3 separate regions of the Homo sapiens genome follow, and all the other regions are linked to region 1. The links are contacts of gene promoters, found by promoter capture Hi-C in human tissues and cell types (Jung and others, 2019). All regions are on one chromosome and are shown on one strand. The core of a region is centred on a gene start or on the middle of the fragment in contact, and the rest is flanking DNA. Distances in the headings are between cores, read along the strand shown.

What was found. The method cuts DNA at HindIII sites, captures the fragments that hold promoters and counts their contacts. A contact is called where the count stands out against the background at its distance.
Region 2: a contact is called between a fragment that was not itself captured here and the fragment with the promoter of AGPAT3 in region 1, in 3 of the 25 tissues and cell types used here (IMR-90 fibroblasts, dorsolateral prefrontal cortex and lymphoblastoid cells).
Region 3: the fragment with the promoter of RRP1 here is called in contact with the fragment with the promoter of AGPAT3 in region 1 in 6 of the 25 tissues and cell types used here (adrenal gland, dorsolateral prefrontal cortex, lymphoblastoid cells and 3 more).

What each region holds. Positions count from the first base shown.
Region 1 is chr21:43,863,339-43,867,338 of GRCh38, forward strand. AGPAT3 (1-acylglycerol-3-phosphate O-acyltransferase 3) reads left to right here and starts at 1,885. Exons shown (of 10, transcript NM_020132.5): 1 at 1,885-2,007. RefSeq lists silencers at 944-1,303, 1,854-2,203, 2,324-2,643. The HindIII fragment of the contact is 11,781 bases long and covers 1-4,000 here.
Region 2 is chr21:43,768,431-43,772,430 of GRCh38, forward strand. No RefSeq gene overlaps it. Among named protein-coding and RNA genes, the nearest start is that of CSTB, 5.9 kb to the right of the region's middle. RefSeq lists a cis regulatory region at 1-441 and enhancers at 1-163, 1-185, 164-777, 1,520-2,442, 2,443-3,364. The HindIII fragment of the contact is 6,907 bases long and covers 1-4,000 here.
Region 3 is chr21:43,787,948-43,791,947 of GRCh38, forward strand. It overlaps RRP1 (ribosomal RNA processing 1), which reads left to right and starts at 1,630. Exons shown (of 13, transcript NM_003683.6): 1 at 1,630-1,815; 2 at 3,403-3,485. The coding sequence starts at 1,683. RefSeq lists silencers at 1,431-1,660, 1,871-2,040, 3,980-4,000 and an enhancer at 1,691-1,800. The HindIII fragment of the contact is 35,062 bases long and covers 1-4,000 here.

The sequences.
Region 1 (4,000 bases), core at 635-3,134:
GCCATTTTTTGTTTGTTTGTTTGTTTTAAATAAAGCACATCATTGTATATTCACTGCTCTGCACTATTTTTATTTTTTAATTTAACAGATCTTGGAGACTATATCCTATCTGTGTACACAGAATTATCACATCACAACTTTAGAAAATGTTTTAAATTAAAAATGCTAAATGAATGTTCTAGAGTTTATTTAACCAAGTGTCTGGTTGTTCTCAGGCTTCCTGTGATTATAGGTATAGCTGTAAGTCAGCACATCCCTGTATCCACACATCCCGTGGTGCCTGTGAGAATTTATCTGTGGCACAGATTACCCAAAATGACATGAGGGGTGAGAGGTTTTACAAATGGTGAATTCCACGAGCTTTGCAAATCTTAACTCCTTTTTCAAGAATAAGGGAACTGTGAGTAGGACAGGTGCACGGTACTTTCATTTTATTTTAGTCTAAGTATTTTCTGAAATAATTTGAGGAGGCTTAAAGGGAGGTGCAAGCTGGGTGCGGGGGCTCATACTTGTAATCCCAGCACTTTGAGAGGAGGAGGTGGGAGAATACTTGAGCTCAGGAGTTCGAGATCAGCCTGGGCAACACCGTGAGGCCCCATTTCTACAAAAAAAATTTTTTTTAAATTAGCCAGACATGGTGGTGTGTGCCTGTGGTCCCAGCTACTTGGGAGGCTGAGGTGGGAGGATCACTTGAGCCCTGGAGTTCAAGGCTTCAGCGAGCTATGATTGTACCACTGCACTCCAGGGTGGGCGACAGAGCAAGACCCTGTCTCAATAATAATAAAAATAAAAAAAAAAAAAAGGAAAAAAAGGGGCACAGTAGACAGTACCAGTACTTGGTATTTTAAATGGTTTTCAAATGAAGCCCACCCAAGCTCAGCAAGTCCAGCCGGGGCCTGAGGACCTGAGCAGGCGCCAGGTCACACAAGGTACCGGGCGCAGGAGGCGGAGCCCGCAGCGGGCCCTGCCCTGACAGCGGCACCTGCGCGGCCTCCGCAGGTTCTGGGATCGGCCGCTGGCCAGGTGCAAGGGAGGGGGGACGGCAGCCGCTGTCCTGGGGCTGAGAGGGCTCCGCGGTCTGGAGGGGACGGCGTCAGCGCCCGCGGGGGTTCGCAGGGCAGCCCCGGGGCGACCCCCACCCCCGCCACGGTCAAGTGTCGATACAGTGTTGCCAGCCGGGTGCCAACTATGAATAAGTCCAAGGGCGCGGCACGTGGGCCGAAACGCGATCCTTCCGCGGAGCCGCTGCGCGCAGGGCCGTCCCCACCGAGCCCGCCGCGCGGCGACCCCTGACGGCGACCCTAAGCCCCGGCCGACCAGGGCAGGAGCTCGCGCGCGAAACTTCCCCGGCGCCCGCAGGAGACCCCGGCAGGGGAGATGGCGGGGCCCAGGCAGAGCTCGGAGGCCCCTCCCGGCCCCACCCCGCGCCCCGGCCCCCTCTGCCCCCGACCCGGTCCGGGGGAGCCCTCGCGGGACCCCAGCCTGGTCCTTCGCCGCCTCCCCCCGTTCAGCCCCGACCCCCCTGATCCCCGCGCCCCCCGCGGTCCCGGCCCGCCCCCTCCCCCAGCCCGGGCCCCAGCCCCGTCCGTTAGCGGATCCCACGCAGGCTCCGCGCCCGGCCCCGCCGGCGCCCTCGGCCCACACCTCTCTCCGCGCGCGTGTCCCGCCGTGTCGCCCCCGTGTCCCCTCCGCGTCCCCCCCCGCGCCGTCCCCCCGCGTCCCCCCCCGCGTCCTTCCCCCGTGTCCCCCCAGCGTGTCCCTCGGCCGCCCCGCGCGCGCCGGCGGAACTGTGGGATCGCCGCGCACAGGAAGTGGCGGCGGCGGCGCGGCCGAGGGCGGAGGGCGGAGGGCGGCGGGATGGGGGCCGGGGGCGGCGGGCGCCGCACTCGCTGAGGCCCCGACGCAGGGCCGGGCCGGGCCCAGGGCCGAGGAGCGCGGCGGCCAGAGCGGGGCCGCGGAGGCGACGCCGGGGACGCCCGCGCGACGAGCAGGTGGCGGCGGCTGCAGGTGAGCACCGAGGCCCCCACCCGAGGTCGGGCCGCCCCCCTCTTCCCCCACGCCCCGCCGCCGCCCGAGGTCGCCCTCCCGCCGCCGGAGGTCGCCCCTGCCCCAGCCGTCCGACCTCGGGCCGCCCGGGGCCCCGCGCCGCAATGGGCCGGCCGCGCTCCGCGGGGCGCGGGGCCTGGGAAGGCGCGGGGCCGGGAGGAGGTCTGGGCCCGGGTCCTGTGCGCCCCCCGCAACCCCGGCCTCCCCGGCGGCCTGGTCCAGCGCGAGGCCCCGGCCGCTTCCCGCAGCAGCCTCGGTGGCGCTGGGCCCAGCGGGGAGGCCCGGGGGTTCGGGGCGCCCGGGAGGGGCCCGGGCCGGGCCGAGGGAGGGCGAGTGGGTTCCCGCGGGGACGTCCCATCCCTCCGTCCTGGACTCTGCTCCGGGCCCCGCTCGGCTCCCCCGTGGACAGGACGCGCCCGCCGCCTGGTTTCGGGGCGCGGCGGACCCGGGACCCCCCCCAGGGGCCTCCTCCTCGCGCGCCCAGGCCAAGGGAGCAGTTTCACTTTTGCCGCTCCGCGCGGGGAGGGCTGCGGGGCCCGGGGTTGGCTGTGGGTTCGGCCCGGAGACCGGCGGCGCGTTTGCACCGGGCGGGTCAGGGGATGGGGTCAGTCCGGGGGCAAGAGCCGTGGGGGCGAAAACCCACTCCTGGCCACCCCAGGACCCTTGGAACATTGGTCCCAAGTACTTAGGAAAGGAGGGTTATTAGTATTTGAAGGCAGTTAAAAATGGTGCAGTGTTTTTTTTTTTTTTTTTAACTTTGAGAGAAGTTTAGTGACATGGGGAAAATGCTTTTATAAATGGCTTCCCAGACCTTTAAAAAAAAAAAAGCACAATTTTAAAAGCTTTGTCTAGGAGAATACTTGAGCAGTTGGGTTCTTTTTCCTGGGAAACATGATCTTAGTAGAAGAAAGATGTGGGCTGTTGGCCTCCAGACAGAGGGTGATGAGCATGCGGCTCTTATTAAAAATGAAAGCCAACGCCGAGAGCCTGCTGGGGGCTGGGAGGTGGGGCGGGCGGCGGGCCCAGGCTGCTAGAGGGACCCAGGATCCTGCAGCTTTTAAATTGCAGGCGCGGCTGCTCCGACTCGACTCGCTTAGGAATTGCTGAACTTCGTCTTCTCAGTTTGAAAGCTTCAGAGGGGTCTCCCGAGGATGCTGAGCACTCTCTTGATTTGGCCACTTCTTTGCCGCCCCCCCTCCCTCTTTCCAACCAATCCTCCTCCCCCACAGAGTTCGGCGTTAGCCTGTGCCTGTTACAACTCGCTTCTTGTATCCATTTCTGGTTAGTCTTAAGTATCTTCTTGAGGACATTGTCTAAAAAGCAGCTGCATGCCATTGACATTCAGACAGAACAGGGCCCCTTGGCCTTAGAAGGTGTAGGGGCCTTAAATATTCTGAAGGTGACTTCATGGAGTGGCCGCCCTCTGTGGTCACCCTACCTGTGCGTGGCCCTGTCCTGGCGTATCTGCCAGGGGGACGCGCTGCAGCAGCCTGAAGACTGCTGGGTTAAAGGCAGTGTGGCCGGGTGGGAAAGTCCCCAGGAGTGTGGATTCTAGAACAGGCCTTCCTGGAGGGAGGGTGCTGCCCCGCCCCAGGCTGGGGCCCCAGTGCAGACTCCACGCTGGGGAGCTACACCCTGCGCCTGGACGCGCGTCTGTGTGCCAGGACTGGGGAAGCAAACTGAAAGTAATGGCTTTATTTTGGAAATTAGAAAAAGAGCATTCACCAAAGTAATCTGTTCCGTCCCTGCCGTAGACACGTGACTGATACACCTGCCTCCCATCCCCTCCGCACTTTGACCTCGTAAACAAGTGATCTGACACAACAGGGCTTGAGTTACTTGCCCGAGGTTGTGTCACGGAACGGCAGGGCCGCCTTTAGGCTTACATCCCTGGAACTCCCACCTCCACAGACCCGTCCGGGTGCTGAAAGTCCACGGATGCTATCCCTGGTCA
Region 2 (4,000 bases), core at 793-3,292, 95 kb before region 1:
GAAGGGCCAACAGTGGCCGAGTCAGCTCTGCTTAGTCTGAACTGCCCCTCCCATTGCTCCCAGGCCGGGCAGCAGCCTCTTGAGCAGCCCCGAGCCCCGCTCTTGTCCTTCCAGCCGGCTCTCAGGGGCTCACCCCCTCCCCACCCCCACAGTCAGCCTTGCGGTCAGCTTTCTCTAAAGGCAGCTCCGCACACGTAGCTCTCCCTGCCCCACGTTGTCCACAGCGCTCCCTGCCCCCAGATCCCAGTGTCCCCACCACAGCTCCGCACCGCTCCTTGATCTGGGCCTGCATTAGCATCCCCGGGTTATGTGGCTACCCGTGCTGCAAAGGAGCCTGGGAAGTGTGTCTTTTCCATCTGTGCGAAATTCTATAGTTTTTCTCGCCCTTAAGGGAGGTGGGGAGAAGGATCTGGGCAGGGAAGGCCCGGCCCATCCCTGGCCACCTATGACACTGTAAGCCTCTTAGAGAGCGGCCATGCCTGCCTCGCTCTGCAAGCAGACCTGCAGGGTGCCTGGCACGAGGACATTCAGATGTGGGAAGGAGGGAGGAGGGAGAGACGACCTGGAAAGGAATGAGTGTGAGCTCAGTCGATGGTCAGGGACTGTGCCCAACCAGGGCCTGGCTGTGCCGTGGGGAGCTCTCCGAGCTCTGAGCATCCAAATGTTGGAGTCCTGACCCTGCCTTTTGTGGGATAGAAAATGGGAATTAACACCGCTTCTGGGCAGCTCAATTAGGAAATCTTAGACGCTCTACCTGGTAGTGGAATGATTAGATTACTCAAGCCTACAATTTTATCTTTTGCACAATTTGCATCCAATTATGTTATTCTGTCTCTAATCTAGTGGGAATCTATTCTCATCTCCATCAGTTGGCCCTGCTTCATAACGCACGTTTCCTGACAGCAGTTAGAGGAGAGACTGAGTAAGGCTGTGGTGGCATCTCCCAGCTCCTTTGGGCTGGTAAGGATACTGTTGGCTTTGCCTGGCTCCCCCCACCCAGACCCTGTCTACACAGACAGAACCTCAGCTAACACAGAGCCTGGCTGCTCTGTTCTGCCAGATCGGGAACACATGGCCAGCAAAACCTGCAGGCACAGGGCGCGGCGGCTCACGTCTGTAAGCCTACCACATTTTGGGGCTGAGGTGGGTGGATCACTTGAGCTCAGGAGTTCAAGACCAGCCTAGGAAACATGGCGAAACCCCGTTGCTACAAAAAACACAAATAATTAGCAGAACAAGGTGGCATGCATCTGTAGTTCCAGCTGCTCAGGAGGCTGAGGCAGGAGGATCACCTGAGCTAGGGGAGGTCGAGACTGCAGTGAGCTATGGTGGCCCCACTGCACTCCAGCCTGGGCAACAGAGTGAGACCCTTGTCTCAAAAAAACAAAACCCAGGCCTGGAGTGGGGGCTCACGCCTATAGTCCCAGCACTTTGAGAGGCTGAAGGGGGTGGATCACCTGAGGTCAGGAGTTCGAGACTGGCCTGGCCAACATGGTGAAACCCGGTCTCTACTAAAAATACAAAAATTAGCCAGGCATGGTGGCAGGCACCTGTAATCCCAGCTACTCAGGAGGCTGAGGCAGGAGAATCACTTCAACCCGGGAGGTGGAGGTTGCAGTGAGCCAAGATAGCACCATTGCACTCCAGCCCAGGTGACAAGAGTGAAATTCCATCTCAAAAACAAACAAACAAAAAAACAAAAAAAAACCCTACCAGCTTTGGGAAAAGTGATGCTCGCTGAGAATTCGGGGTGGAGGGTAGGAGACCCAACCAAGATGACACTGTCACTCGAGAGTGAGTGACAGCTGGCTGGGGACCCGCAGCTGCCTGCTCAGCCCAGGGAGCATGCCTGCCTCAGGAGCTTCAGAGTGAGGGTCTGCGCTCTCAGCGTGGGGCGGTTCCTTGCCTAGCATCTGTTGAGTGCATTTCCATCAGCCAGGGCCCCAGTGGAAACAGGCAGCACTCACAGGAGCAACTCAAGCAGCGTTTGGTGTCCAGCGTGTGGAAGCGGTGTTCCCTTTCAGGACGGGGCCCGCGTTACAAACGGGGAGCTCAGGCCAGGCCGTCCTGGGCTCCTGCACGTTCTGGACTTTGCGCACCCACCCCTCCACCTTCCCGTCCTACCTGTGACTTGAGCAGGCGCCCAGGCTGTAGGGCGGACTGCAGGAGAGGGGCTGCCCCTGGAGGGGGTTGTAGGCCTCTGCTGCCCTGGCTCCCCTTGCCGTTTTCATTTATTTATTTATTATTATTATTATCTTCAAGACAGGATCTCTCTCTGTCACCCAGGCCAGAGTTCAGTGGTGTGATGATGGCTCACTGCAGCCTCGACCTCCCGGCTCAAATGATATGATCCTCCCACCTCAGCCTACCAAGTAGCTGGGACTACAAGTGTGTGTCGCCAAACCTGGCTAATTTTTTATTTTTTGTAGAGATAGGGGTCTCACTCTGTTGCCTAGGCTGGTCTCAAACTCCTGAGCTCAAGTGATCCTCCCACCTCGGCCTCCCAAAGCTCAAGCCATTTTTAACATTGCCGAGGCAGTTTTGGGGAAACATGCCTGAACGAACCATGAGTAAGACCTCCACGTTTTCTTTCTGGCTCTCAGGGGTCTGGAGGGGAAGTGGCTCATGGCAGGTCCCAGCACGTAGGCCTCTGTTTTCTGGTTCATGTTCCAGGATGGGGAAGGACCTAAGCCATCAGTGTCCTGGAGATCCAGCGTCTTAATTCATTCAGGGTAGCCCGTCCCGCCCTCCAGACTGCTGGGCACACCAGGGGCTCTGCTCCTGCTCTGTCCCAGGACTCAGGGCCCCTCCAGGGCAGCTGCCGTGACGTCGTGGCTATGAGGCATTCAGCCGCCTCCCAGAATGCGCCATGCTCTTGCCCAACCTGGACTCCCCACTCTCTGCTGCTGGCGCCAGGACGGTCTCACCCACCTCAGCCTCTAGCTCCTCCTCCTCAAGCCTCAGGTCTGAACTTGGCCATGGCCTCTGCCCAGAAGCCTTCTGCACCTCTGTCAGATCCCCGTTTACCCCCAGCAGGACCCTCCCTTAGGGCACTTGGTACAATTTCACATCCGTGACAGTGACAGTCACCGCCCCCATGCTGTGAGCCCCACGGGAGTCCGAGCTGACTTCATTCTTCCCCTACTACGTGCCTCATCCACTTTGAGCTCCTGTATTAGTCCATTCTCATGCTGCTAATAAAGACATATCCATGACTGGATAATTTATAAAGGAAAGAGGTTTAATTGACTCACAGTTCAGCATGGCTAGGGAGGCCTCAGGAAACACAATCATGGCAGAAGGGGAAGGAAACACATCCTTCTTCACATGGTGGCAGGAAGGAGACGTGCCAGCAAAAGCGGGGAAAGCCCCTTATGAAACCATCAGATCTCATGAGGATTCACTCACTATCACGAGAACAGCATGAGGGTAACCACCTCCATGATTCAATGACCTCCCACCAGGTCCCTCCCATGACACGGGATTATGGGAGCTATAATTCAAGATGAAATTTGGGTGGAGACACAGCCACACCATATCAGAGCTCCTAATGCACTCTCAGAGGGCAGGGTTAAACCAGCGGGGGGTTCGGTTAAACCAGCGGGGGGTTCGGTAACAAGGGACTTTTGTCAGCGGGTAGTGAAATTCATCAGATTTCCAAGCTGCTGCTGTTGATGCTCCTAAGGAAGCAGACAGCGTGTGGATGAAATTGACAACTTCATATAAATTATATATATATATAGAGAGAGAGAGAGAAACGGAGTCTTACTCTGTTGCCCAGGCTGGAGTGTAGTGGTGCAATCTCGGCTCACTGCAACCTCCTCTGCCTCCTGGGTTCAAGCTATTCTCTTGCCTCAGCCTCCTGAGTAGCTGGGATTACAGGCACCTGCCTGGCTAGTTTTTTGTATTTTATTTTATTTTTTTCAGTAGGGATGGGGTTTCACCATGTTGGTCAGGCTGGTCCCGGAACTCCTGACCTCAAGTGATCCACCCACCTCAG
Region 3 (4,000 bases), core at 380-2,879, 76 kb before region 1:
GCTGGAGTGCAGTGGCCGGATCTTGGCTCACTGCAACCTCCGCCTCCTGTGTTCAAGCAATTCTCTTGCCTCAGCCTCCCGAGTAGCTGGGATTACAGGTGCTCGCCACCACACCCAGCTAATTTTTGTATTTTTAGTAGAGATGGGGTTTCACCATGTTGGCCAGGATGGTCTCGAACTCCTGACCTCGGGTGATCCACCTGCTTTGGCCTCCCCAAGTGATGGTTGGGATTACAGGCATGAGCCACCACTGCCAGCCTTTTCAACTTTTTATGAAAAATTTCATACATAGAAAATGTCAGAAGATAGGTCAATGAAGACCTGTATTCCTGCCTGTAGACGCCACACTTGTATTTTTTTGAGACGGAGTCTCACTCTGTCACCCAGGCTGGGGTGCAGTGGCGCGATCTCGGCTCACTGCAAGCTCCGCCTCCGGGGTTCACGCCATTCTCCTGCCTCAGCCTCCTGAGTAGCTGGGACTACAGGCGCCCGCCACCACGCTCAGCTAATTTTTTGTGTTTTTAGTAGAGACGGGGTTTCACCGTGTTAGCCAGGATGGTCTCGATCTCCTGACCTCATGATCCGCCCGCCTCGGCCTCCCAAAGTGCTGGGATTACAGGCGTGAGCCACCGCGCCCGGCCAACGCCACAACTGTTAACAGTGTGCCATAGTTGCTTATCTGCATACACATATGTGCGTGTAATGATTTACTTTTTTGCAGAATGAATTACAGACATCATGACAGGTCACCTTTACCAAAGAGTTCTGCAGTTATTTCTAAAAATAAAGAATATTTTTCTACTTCAGGGTATGTCAAACTGTGGCCCTAGGCCAAATGCAGCCTCCCCGTTTTTTTTTTTGTTGTTGTTTTTTGAGACAGAGTCTCACTCTGTCGCCCAGGCTGGAGTGCAGCGGCGCAATCTCGACTCACTGCAACCTCCGCCTCCCGGATTCAAGCAATTCTCCTGCCTCAGCCTCCTGAGTAGCTGGGATTACAAGCGCCCGCCACTACGCCTGGCTAATTTTTGTATTTTTAGTAGAGACAGGGTTTCACCATGTTGGTCAGGCTGGTCTCAAACTCCTGACCTCGTGATCCACCCGCCTCAGCCTCCCAAAGTGCTGGAATTACAGGCGTGAGCCACCGCGCCCGGCACACCCCTGGTTTTAAAAATAAAGTTTCGAGCCGAGAGTGGTGGCGCCCGTGGTCCCAGCTCCTCGGGAGGCTGAGGCTGGGGGATCCCTGGAGCCCGCGAGGCAAAGGCTGCAGTGAGCCGAGATCGCGCCTTGCACTCCAGCGTGGGTAACAGAGCGAGACCCTGTCTCAGGAAAAAAATACAAGTGGGGTTATAAATAAAATGAGATTAAAAAACAACAGATCTTTGCCTCAGAATCCCGACCCACCGCAGCCCCAGCGAGGCGCAGGCGCAGGCGCAGGCGCGCGCTCGCTGGTTCCGCCCATGCGCACAGGCAGGGAGCGCGCGCCCCCTCTGTAGCCTTCGGCCTCCGGGGGCTGCAGTTGCGCGGCTCGGCCACTGCGCGGCGGTGGCGTGCGCCTGGGCGGTGTCGCGGGCTGTGACGTCACGCCACGCGCCGGGGCCAGGAGGAGGCGGGCGCAGGAGGCGCGTGCTCAGTGTGCTGGGTACCAGGCGACTCCGGGACAGGGGGTCTCGGCCGTCGGCGTCATGGTTTCGCGCGTGCAGCTCCCGCCTGAGATCCAGCTGGCTCAGCGCCTGGCGGGGAATGAGCAGGTGACCCGGGACCGGGCGGTGAGGAAGCTCCGGAAATACATCGTCGCCAGGACTCAGCGGGCCGCAGGTTGGCGGGGGTGTGGGCGGCTGGCGTCTCGGGGGCCGGCTGGGCTGGTGCGGGTGTGGGCGGCGGCGGCCGGAGCTGGGGGCCCTCCGAGCCCTGTGGAACCTCCACGTGGCCGGGCCGGGCAGGCGGGGTCCACTGGCCTGTTCCCGCTGTTACCGGCCCACGGCCCCCGCCGCCGCTTTCCCTCGTGGTGCGGTGACTCTGGTCCCTCTGCGAGAACGCTCCTCCCCAGCCCCGTAACCCCTTTCCTAGCTCAGGCGTCCCCTCCCTCCAGTAGACCATGTACTCCTGCTGCCCTGCTGTTTGGGCACCCAGTATTTTTCCCTCATGGCAGCATTTCCCACTGTTTGCAGTTTTCTGTTTTGCGTTAATTATTGGATTGTTTTCCGATTTCCACTCGAGAGTACCTCTCTGAGGGCCGAGAATCTACTTCTTGTTCATGGTACCAGGTGGTTCTCCGAGCGTGGTCCCCCATCAGCAGTAGCATCCCCTGGACATTTGTTAGAAATACACGTTCTATGCCGGGCGCAGTGGCCCAAGCCTGTAATCCCAGCTACTTGGCACGTCGATGTGGGAGGATCACAAAGGCCCAGGAGTCCAGCCTGGGCAACATAGCAAGACTCCATTTCCATCGCAAAAGAAAAGAAAGAAATGCAAGTTCTAGGATCCCAGCCCTACTAAATCAGGACTGGCATCTGCTTTATGAAGCTGTTCAAGTGCTTCTGCTCCCCACACTCAGCCTGAGAACCACTGCTGCAGGAACAGGTTGCCAGACACATAGGACTTCAGTGAATGTCAACTGAGTAATGTTTTAAATTAAAATTTTTTGTTATTTTTCTGAGTGAGACAGACCTCACTGTCATCCGTGGTGGAGGAGTGCATTGGCACGATTACAGCTCACTGCAGCCTCTACCTCCCAGGCTCAAGTGAGCCTCCCATCTCAGCCTCCCCAATAGCTGGGACTACTGGCACCGTGCGGCCAGGCCAGCTAAGTTTTGTATTTTTTGTACAAATTGGGGTCTTCCTATGTTGCCCAGACTGGTCTTGAACTCCTGGCCTCAAGTGATCCTGCCTCAGCACTCAATTCCAAAGTGCTGGGAGTACAGGCGTGAGCCACCGCACCTGGCCTCAGTAATTTCTGTTTCTCTCGTAGTCTGAATGCCTGAGTTCACTTTCTTCTTTTAGTATTTGAGATATATTACAGGAGAGTGCAGAAGCCCTCAGTATAATGCTGGATGAATTATCACCAACAGATTAACCTTGTGGCCACTGTCCAGCTTAGGAAACCGTCAAGGTTCGCAATTTTGAATTTCCAAAATGGAGTATGGTGCCTGATACCTTGTAGATCTCAGTCGGTTTTACTGTGTGCGTGAAGTAGCAGTTACCTGGAGTAGCCGCATAGCCACAGGCGCGGCAGGTTCTGGGTTAGAAGGATTGTTTGAAGGGGAGGGCCAGATTCTGCCCCCCAGTTGCCTTTACCGTAAGTGGGACTTTGGTCTCATTCAGGCAGTCACGTTTCTGTGGCTTCCTTTCTGGCACTCGAAGGTGTGGGATTCATTTGGTCCAACCGTTGCTGTTTTGATGCAGGTGGTTTTACGCACGACGAGCTGCTGAAGGTGTGGAAAGGACTGTTTTATTGCATGTGGATGCAGGACAAGCCACTCCTCCAGGTGAGTGGGGGGAGCAGCAGAGCAGGTACAGAAGCAGCGGGGGAGGATGGATGGGCATCTGGTCAACCCAGTTTTTCTTTTTTTTTTAAGTCGGAGTTTCGCTCTTGTTGCCCAGGCTGGAGTGCAGTGGCTCAATCTCGGCTTACTGCAACCTCAGCCTTCTGGTTTCAAGCAATTTTCCTGCCTCAGCCTCCCAAGTAGCTGGGAGTACAGGTACCTGCCACCATGCCTGGCTAATTTTTTGTATTTTTAGTAGAGACAGAGTTTCATCATGTTGGTCAGGCTGGTCTCGAACTCCTGAGCTCAAGTGATCCTCCCATCTCGGCCTCCCAAAGTGCTGGGATTACAGGCATGAGCCACCGCGCCCGGCCTGGTCAACCCAGTTTTAATATGGCCAGAGACCGTGGGGAGGTCGTATAGCCTTGACGCTTGGTTCGGCACGGCTGGTGGGCCTGGGCCTTTGTTAGGTGAGTCTTACACTTGCTGAGGTGTTGATGTGATTGACTGAGCCGTGC